Linked DNA regions of Homo sapiens: regions 1 and 2 are each linked to region 3. Evidence: promoter capture Hi-C in 16 types of primary human blood cells and fetal thymus (Javierre and others, 2016). All regions are on one chromosome and are shown on one strand. The core of a region is centred on a gene start or on the middle of the fragment in contact, and the rest is flanking DNA. Distances in the headings are between cores, read along the strand shown. Region 1 has its middle 48 kb from the start of FOXCUT. Region 2 has its middle 6.0 kb from the start of FOXC1. Region 3 holds the start of MYLK4 (myosin light chain kinase family member 4).

What was found. Contacts are between HindIII fragments. The CHiCAGO score rates a contact against its expected background, and 5 or more counts as called.
Region 1: a contact is called between a fragment that was not itself captured here and the fragment with the promoter of MYLK4 in region 3, in 2 of 17 cell types (total CD4 T cells and non-activated CD4 T cells). The highest score is 6.8, in total CD4 T cells.
Region 2: a fragment that was not itself captured here is called in contact with the fragment with the promoter of MYLK4 in region 3 in 6 of 17 cell types (naive B cells, M1 macrophages, total B cells and 3 more); the score reaches 9.4 in naive B cells.

What each region holds. Positions count from the first base shown.
Region 1 is chr6:1,556,151-1,558,850 of GRCh38, forward strand. No RefSeq gene overlaps it. Among named protein-coding and RNA genes, the nearest start is that of FOXCUT, 48 kb to the right of the region's middle. The HindIII fragment of the contact is 1,494 bases long and covers 577-2,070 here.
Region 2 is chr6:1,614,530-1,617,229 of GRCh38, forward strand. No RefSeq gene overlaps it. Among named protein-coding and RNA genes, the nearest start is that of FOXC1, 6.0 kb to the left of the region's middle. RefSeq lists an enhancer at 1-332. The HindIII fragment of the contact is 486 bases long and covers 1,108-1,593 here.
Region 3 is chr6:2,749,554-2,752,253 of GRCh38, forward strand. It overlaps MYLK4 (myosin light chain kinase family member 4), which reads right to left and starts at 1,369. Exons shown (of 13, transcript NM_001012418.5): 1 at 1,183-1,369. The HindIII fragment of the contact is 6,360 bases long and covers 1,038-2,700 here.

The DNA of each region.
Region 1 (2,700 bases), core at 74-2,573, 1.2 Mb before region 3:
GGTTGGCAAACTTGCCAAGGACATAGACCTGTTCCTGTTCTTACTTCAGCTGGGCTTTCTTTTAATGAGTGGATTGCATTATACACTTTTTTGTTATGTTTTGCATTCACATATGCATAAAATGCTTTTCACTAGGAATCAACCAGATATTAAAAGAACGTAAACATATTCTGGCCATAAATGATAAAAGCTGCATTTGTAGACATGCTCAGCATATCTATTATTGGCCACTGGGTCAATGTTGAGAATTCCCAAAAGAAGTCCCCACCTACATGGCAAAGCTGATGGAGCCTACAAACCGGGAACATCGTAAGTATTAACCATCCTGAAGTATATTCTCTCTTACAAGACGTTGGAAAAACAAACGATGGGCATCTAGAATGACAATAGCTTCCTACTCCTCCTGCAGTTAAGAAAGACAAACGCTGAGAACCGTTGGAAAGGCAAACAAAATTGTATGCGAAGGTCACATTCAGCCAGAAGAGGTGCTCCCAATTACGTTTACTTAAAGGGAGAGGTCCAGACACATTTTTGGTATCCTCCTTTAAAAAATGTTGCAGTCCTTAAAATTTGGTAAGCTTCTGTGACTAAAAGTATCTTTACTGCTACCTAAAGTATGTACATATGTGCATGTTTAAAATCCCTTCTTTTCATCATTTTCAGAGACACTATTTCAATTTCCTGCCCTGAAACATGTGGAATTTCATTTTAAACAAAAGTCTCCTTTCAGGGACTTGCAGGCTTGGTGTGGCTGATTGGTGCTGGAGGCCGCTCAGGACGCAGTTTCTCACCTCGTCACACATGACCTCAGACATAGCAAGTGCCGTGCAGAGTGAGCTCTTGCTCTTCAACTCAGATGATAACCAGAAGCCTGGGCCGTGTCTTCCACATTCTCTATAGCTGCTGCATGGTGCCTGTATTATCTTTTTTTTGTTTGATTGTTTGTTTGTTTGTTTGTTTGTTTGTTTGTGGCAGGGTCTCACTCTGTTGCCCAGGCCGGAGTGCAGTGGCATCAATCCTAGCTCACTGCAGCCTCAACCTCCTGATCTCAAGCTATCCTCTTGCCTTGGCCTCCCAAAGTCCTGGAATTACAGGCATGAGCCACCATACCCAGCCCATATTATCGTTATAATACACACAGGGATCCCAGGAATGAATAAGAGCTAGTACATGTAGAGCATATTCTATGTGCCAGGAATGTATTATTACATGGAATCTCTCACAGCTTTGTGGAAGGTAGGGACTGAAATTGCCTCCATTTTCCACCTGAGTACACTGAGGCTTATAGATGATAGTTACTGGGCCCGAGGTAAAGGAGCCCAGGGGTCCAACCCGGCACCATTATGCTTGGCATTATATTGTTTTCTTTTAATAACTGCCTTTAATTAATTAATCAGGCACATTATTCTTCCCTTAGACCTGTATGTAATCGACAGTCAGTAAATGAGAAATAAGAATGATGGTTGCAAAGCCAAATAACACCAATGTGCTCAGATAAAAGAGTTTTTAAAATTTAGTTCATACTGAAGACCTTTCTACAGTGAGTTATTCCCAGAGTTTTACAATTAACTTATCAATTGAGACTATAGGCCAGGTGCGGTGGCTCACCTGTAATCCCAGCACTTTGGGAGGCAGAGGTGGGCGGAGCACTTGAGGTCAGGAGTTCGAGACCAGCTTGGCCAACATGGGAAACCCTGTATCTACTAAAAATACAAAAATTAGCCAGGTGTGATGGTGCACGCCCGTAATCCCAACTACTCAGGAGGCTGAGGCAGGAGAATTGCTTGAACCCAGGAGGCAGAGGTTGCAATGAGCCAAGATCACACCACTGCACTCCAGCCTGGGCGACAGAGCAAGACTCTGTCTCAAAAACAACAACAAAAAAAATTAAAATTAAAATTAATGAATATAAAAAATAAATTTAGACTATATTTCAACTTAACTCATAATGAAACATTTCAGCATTTATTTATGTCAGGTTAAATTAAGTCTAAATGGATCATGAAGTCTTTATGCTTCCCCTGAAAATGAAAAACGAGGGCTACATAATTTTTACATGTGAAAGATTTAAGCTTTACAATGCCATATAACAAAAAGATTTCCCATTCCAAGACAGTGTTCCCAAGGAAATTAAGCTTTCTTTTCTCCACCATGATAGTTTACTCAAACAAACAAACAAACAAATAAACTAAACTTTGAAAGAATAATAAGTTTAAGAGAGTGGGAGAATGAATGAGTTCAGGCTTTTATGTAATTGTCATTCCACCAAGGGGGTTCAGGCAGCGTCAAGACAGTTAGACTAGGTAGTCTTTATTGCCTCTGTTTGGGTGGTTTGGATCTGTGTCCCCGCCCAAATCTCATGTTGAAATGTGATCCTCATTGTTGGAGGTGGGGCCTGAGTCACGGGAGAGGATATCTCATGCGTGGTTTAGCACCATTCCTTTGGTGCTATTCTCGTGACGGTGAGTGAGTTCTCTCAAGATCCGGTCGTTTAAAAGTGCGTGTGGCACCTCCCCGCCCCCTGCTCCTGCTCCCACCGTGTGAGACATCTGCTCCCTCTTTACCTTCTACCATGACTGGAAGCTTCCTGAGGCCTCCCCAGAAGCAGATACCTGTGTATCTTCCTCTGCAGCCTGCAGAACCATGAGCCAATTAAACATCTTTTCTTTATTCATAGCAATGCAAGAACAGCCTGATATA
Region 2 (2,700 bases), core at 101-2,600, 1.1 Mb before region 3:
TAATTACCCGCGGCGGCGCGGGGCCCGGCTTCGGTTTGCGTTTGGAGCTCCTTCCTCCCCACACCCCCCTCCCCAGATTAGCCCCGGCCTCCGCGGCCTCCTCCTGAAATTAGTCGTTGGAGAAAAGCGAGTCAAAGGGAGACCCCTGTTAGTTTCGCTGGGTTCCTCGCGGGCTGGGTCGGGGTGCCGGGAAGCGCGCGCTGAGGGAGGGTGGCAGGCGCGCGGTGCCGGGGACGGGGACGGGGCGGGGGGCGCCGAGCCGGGAGAAGCGCCCTCGGGGCTCCGGCCGAGAAGCTCGGAGGAGCCCGCTCCCTCGCCCGGTCACCCCGCGTCTCCGCCTGGCGCCGCAGGGCCCCGCCGAGCTCTCACTTCCTCCTCGCTGGCCTCCTTTGTTGTGAAGACGCACGTGTGTTTAGGAGCGCAGCTGGGGTGGAAAGGTCAGAGGCACTTCATTGCTCACGGGTGACAGCTCGCCCCGCGCCGGCCCGCAGCCTCCAGGCGCGGGACCCGGAGCTGCGCGTTTGCAGGGCCACCCCCGGCCCACCCGCCTCGGCCTGGCCGCACCAGACCTGCCCGGGCCGGCGCTGCGGCCCCAGGCGGCCTCCCCGGCAGGGCTGCGTCCTCGCGCGGTGTGTGAGGTTTGCAGAGGCCACCAGTCGCTTGGCAGTGGCCGTGCGGGGAGTCGCTCGGCCTCAAGGATGCCAGAAGCCCTCGGGCGAGCTGCAGGCTCAGCGTGTTCCGAGCCCACGTGCCTGCGACTCTCCACTCTCCTTGGGTCTCGGCTTTGCGGCCCGGAGGAGGTGGCGGCCGCAGTCAGCCCCGGCCTAGGCCCAGGTCGGCAGTGGAAAGCTCGGCGGGCTTTTCTGCACCGTTCCCAGCGGCGGGAGCGAGCTGGGAAAGAGTCGACCCGCTCCCGGCTGGGGGCCCTGCCGAGTCTGGCCTGCCGAGGAGTGGGCCGAGAGCAGCCCCTGTCCTTCCTTGCGGGGCTCCAGTCCCAGCTGCAGGAGAGGAAGCGGGTACGGGGCGAAGCGCGGTGCTTCGGTTTCCGTGGCCAGCGAGGAGCCCCTGGCCCACAGGTCGAGAGTGTTTATAGGCGTGCGCGAGCAAAGCTTCTTAGCAACTTGCTTTACCCTCTTCTATTCGAATGTTTGAAAATTAGGCATGAAACACACATGTGTCTAAGAAGGTGTTTGTGTTAAACATACATGACGTAGTCATTTCTGCACTCGTTGCCTGTGCAAGTTTAGAAGCTATGTTGAGTGGAAGGAGAGAAGTTCTGCTCATTATTCGGATTTTAAAAACCACATCTAGGTAATGTCTCCTACTATCAGTACATTACCTTTTCGATTCTCACACCCGATTTAAGAAAACCAACTTCTGCCAACCTTATTTAACGTGGCACTACTTATTCCTTAGAGGTTTGCACGTTTGGTTTGTACTGTTTTAGGAATAAGGATAATTTTCCTGTGAAATATTCTAAGAAAAACTCCTTGATAGTTTAACTAATAGCCAGTACATTTTGAAATTAGCCTGTGACAGCAGTCCAGATCCATGGCGGGGAATCAGCTAATTTTTAAAATAGCCTCTGTAAAAAGCTTTAGGAGAGTAAGTATTTTGTCCTTTATGCAGAAATGGGCACATTTATTTTAATAGCAATTTATGCCACGACTACACAAATGCCAGCATGCCACATGCCATAGGCAGTCTTGCATTTGGCATGTTGCACGTGTGGGAGGGACCGGTGCTGACTTCTCCAGGGTTGTGTAGTTAGCAGACCTTTTTCTCCAGACTGAGTGCAAACAAGCATGCATTTTACAATTTATTATTCCACAAAATTTGTGTCATTAATAATCGATGCTTGCAAAGGAATAGGGCTCGATTGTACTGGTGGCCTGTAAGCTCCTGGCTGTTTCCTGCCGGGTCAGAAACAAGGGTCAGGAAACAAGAGTGCCTTATAGTCCTATTGGGCTCTCCCTAACTTTGATAGGCGAGGAAAGGACATAGGGCAGGGGTCTCCGTTTCTAAGGCGGAATGTCATTAGTTTTGTTCTTAATGGTGCAAAACCCAAGAGACTCTGAACCCTCTGCAGGTGGAGGCTGCCTGGACAGATTGCCCAGGAGGGACAAGAGGTATCCATACTTGATCAGGCCTCAGGCACCCACACCAGTGTTCTCTGAGGCTGTTAGTGGCACCCAAAGCAAGGCCAGTTGGAGTGACAGTTTCCCTCTACTCCTGCCCCACCTCTGAGAGCTCTGTGAGAGGGGCTCTCATTTGCGAGGCCACCCCCCCCTCCCCCAACCCCGGCCATTTGCTTCAGAGCTTAGCTCCGAGTCCCCTGCTCCTTGGGCCTGCCTGGTATTGCAGGGCCTTCTCCACTACAGGCATTTCATGGACAGTTCATGAAGCCATTAGCCCTTCCCACCCGTCATAAACAAATGTCGTGTTAGGGGCAAGATTGATGGTGGCCAAGTCATAAAGCTGGCCAGGCAGGACAGAATATGATTGTGTGCGGGCAGCCATTCTTCAGCCAAGCAGAGAGATTGGGGTGTAGGACCAAGAGACTGTGTCAGTCTTCCCCCCACCCATCTGAGGGGGGAGCTCAGGAGAGCTCCCGACAGGGAAGTTTAATTTATTCTGACAACGTCCACTTAGGCAGGAAGAGAAACCCACTGAGATTTGCCATGGGGCCCTAAATGCCAG
Region 3 (2,700 bases), core at 119-2,618:
TGAGTTTCCAACATTGGAACTTTAAAAGGAAAAAAAATTTTTTCACTTTAAAACTACAAAAGCAAACAGTAAGAAGCAATGTCAAGATTCACTGGTGATGAAATATGCTCCTTATTGCACAAAACAAGCCGTAGATCAAGTGGCCAGCTTGGATGTAAATTATAAAGTATCTTTGGGTTTAATTGGAACCGCAGGTTTTGCAGCCCCGTGGGAAGGGCTTATCACAGAAGGGGTCTCTCTGCTTCCCCTGGCCTCCCTCTGCAGAGGGATCGCTCCCGAATGAGTCCTTTTCCAGAACTCTTCTCTACCTATGCCTTAAAATGTGTGGTGTTTATTTGTGAAAAGAAATTTATTTCCTTACAGTCTTCTCACGTGGACAGCACTCCCAGATACCTTTCCTTGCATCTGCATTAACAGCTATGTACCGAGAAGTTCAGAGTCTTTTCACTCTCCTTAAAATACTTTCCTCGCAAATGAAGTAATGCAGCATACATAATTCGCTTTGATACTAGAGACATATACGCATGTCTATATGTACACATCACTTGATTGCATAGAGAGGCAGGGAGAGGGAGAGACATTTGAATTTGTGCTAGTTCCGCATGGCTGACAACTGAGGCCCCCTGGTGGAGATTTTCCGAAAAGCGCCTCTTCGAGCATTTTCTCCGCTTAAAAACCGTATTGTGATTCTCATCAGAAAACTTAATATTTTGTTTTGTCAGTTCCTATAGTAAAATGATACTCTTGAGTTCCAAAGTGTTTAAAATTCACTGCTCTAACAAATTATACTTATCCACATAAAGAGCTTACATTCAAACAAATAAAAATGCAAATATTAATACTATCAACCAGAGCTCTACAGATATATTACAGATCATTCTTAGCATTCTTTCAAATTGCCCTGAAAAAATTATTAAAATAAGGAAACAAATGCATGGCTATTTCTAAGGCAAACTACGACTAAAATACTATGGTTAATTGCAGATGAAACTCAAGTTGGATCAGGAAGCCACACAAAATTAATGTATTAAAACAAAAGCTTAGGATTAAGATACAATAATTTTGCAAAGAAATATTAAACATTAAGCTCTACCTGAAGTTTGGTACAATTTGTTATTGAAGGTAACTTAGAAAAAAGGGGAGGAGATTTGAGAGGTTATAACAATAAACAAAGATAATTACCATTGATAGGATCACATCGAAGAGCTTGAGCCACTCCAAGTCTAGAGCATACATTCCAGAAGATAAAGAGAAATTTTGCAGAATTCAAACTGACTATGAAAGTCTCTGGTAAAAGTTTTGACTCTCAGTCGTATAAATCTTCTGAAAAGACAAGTGTCCACTACGAGAGGAAGTATCTTCTCTCTCAAATGCCACTTTCAGCCCCTGTTTAAATTAATATGGCTCTTGATCTCACGTTGCTCAGCTGTTGCCTTCTTAGTCAGATGGGGAAGAATATTAATTTTAGACACCAGGCTTTTCAAGGCCAATGGCTCCATTTCAGAGGTCAGGTAAGGAGAGGATGAACCGGGAACACTGGATGAAATATCACCTTCACCTTTCCCTCGTATCATTGTGTCAATACTCTCGGATTTACAAAGCTAGATTTGTCCTCGGCAATCATCTGCCTGGACCTTCTGCCCCTTTCAGACTCAGGATTATTTAAGTGCTCATTAAATTTCCCCCAGTAGGGAAAATGCCAGGTGTGGCAACCCCACAGCCACCTCTGTTTGCCCATCTTACGCTTTGAGCATATCCAACTGCAATATAGAAGATCTTCTGAAAGCAGTTAGCAAGTTTGTTTTATTTTTCTCAGTTCTTAAAGATGTTTGCAAAGTCTCCAACCATTTCTAGCTCTAGGGAAAGGTCAAAGGCACAGGCATCCAGGAAACAGGAATAAATTTTTCATAAATTCTCCTTAAGCAACACTAGGACTTCATCCGTAGTTTTCTGCACAGACCAAGAAAGGGGAATTTCAACCCACCTGCCCGACTCTCACAGTAGTGCATCCCTAGATTCACTGAAGTGGCATAAAACTTTGATTGCCCAGAGGCTGGACTTTGCAGTCTTGAAAACCCTGCAATTTTTCAGGGCCTGGCCAATTGTCACCTCTTATTTGGAGCCTGTGTTAGCCCCTCTATGCCCCATTCTAACACCAGCCTCTGCTGCTCTTCTGCTTCTTTTAAAAAAAAAACCTTATTTTTAATTCAGATCGATGCATTCCATGTGAAATAAAAATACATATTTTTCCATTTTATGTAGTATTAATGAATTACAGCAAAATCTTTTTTAAAACACAAAACGCTTGTTATTTTTCAGATTGGAGAGCTTTGTTCTTCAGCAAAAGTAATGAAGTGGAACTATAAATTTGTGGAGATAAATTATCTGACAAAAGTATTATACAAAGACTAAGCTGGTTTGAGGTTACCAATTTTGTTAGTATAATTAAATTGTGTAGAAGTACTGATAAGGCAACAAATGCCCTGCCAGAGGCAAGATGTGTGTGGGCTGCTGCTGATCCAACCACATCCTCCACCCGGACCACCACCACGCAAAAGCAGACTTCCTATCTCGTTGGCTCCAGCAAACCAACCACAGGCTTGAGTGAGCCAGAGGCCAGGAGAATCTGCTCCTTAGCTTATTTTTTTGTAATAAACTTTTCCTTTTAGAGTAGTTTTACATCTACAGAAAAGGTGCAAA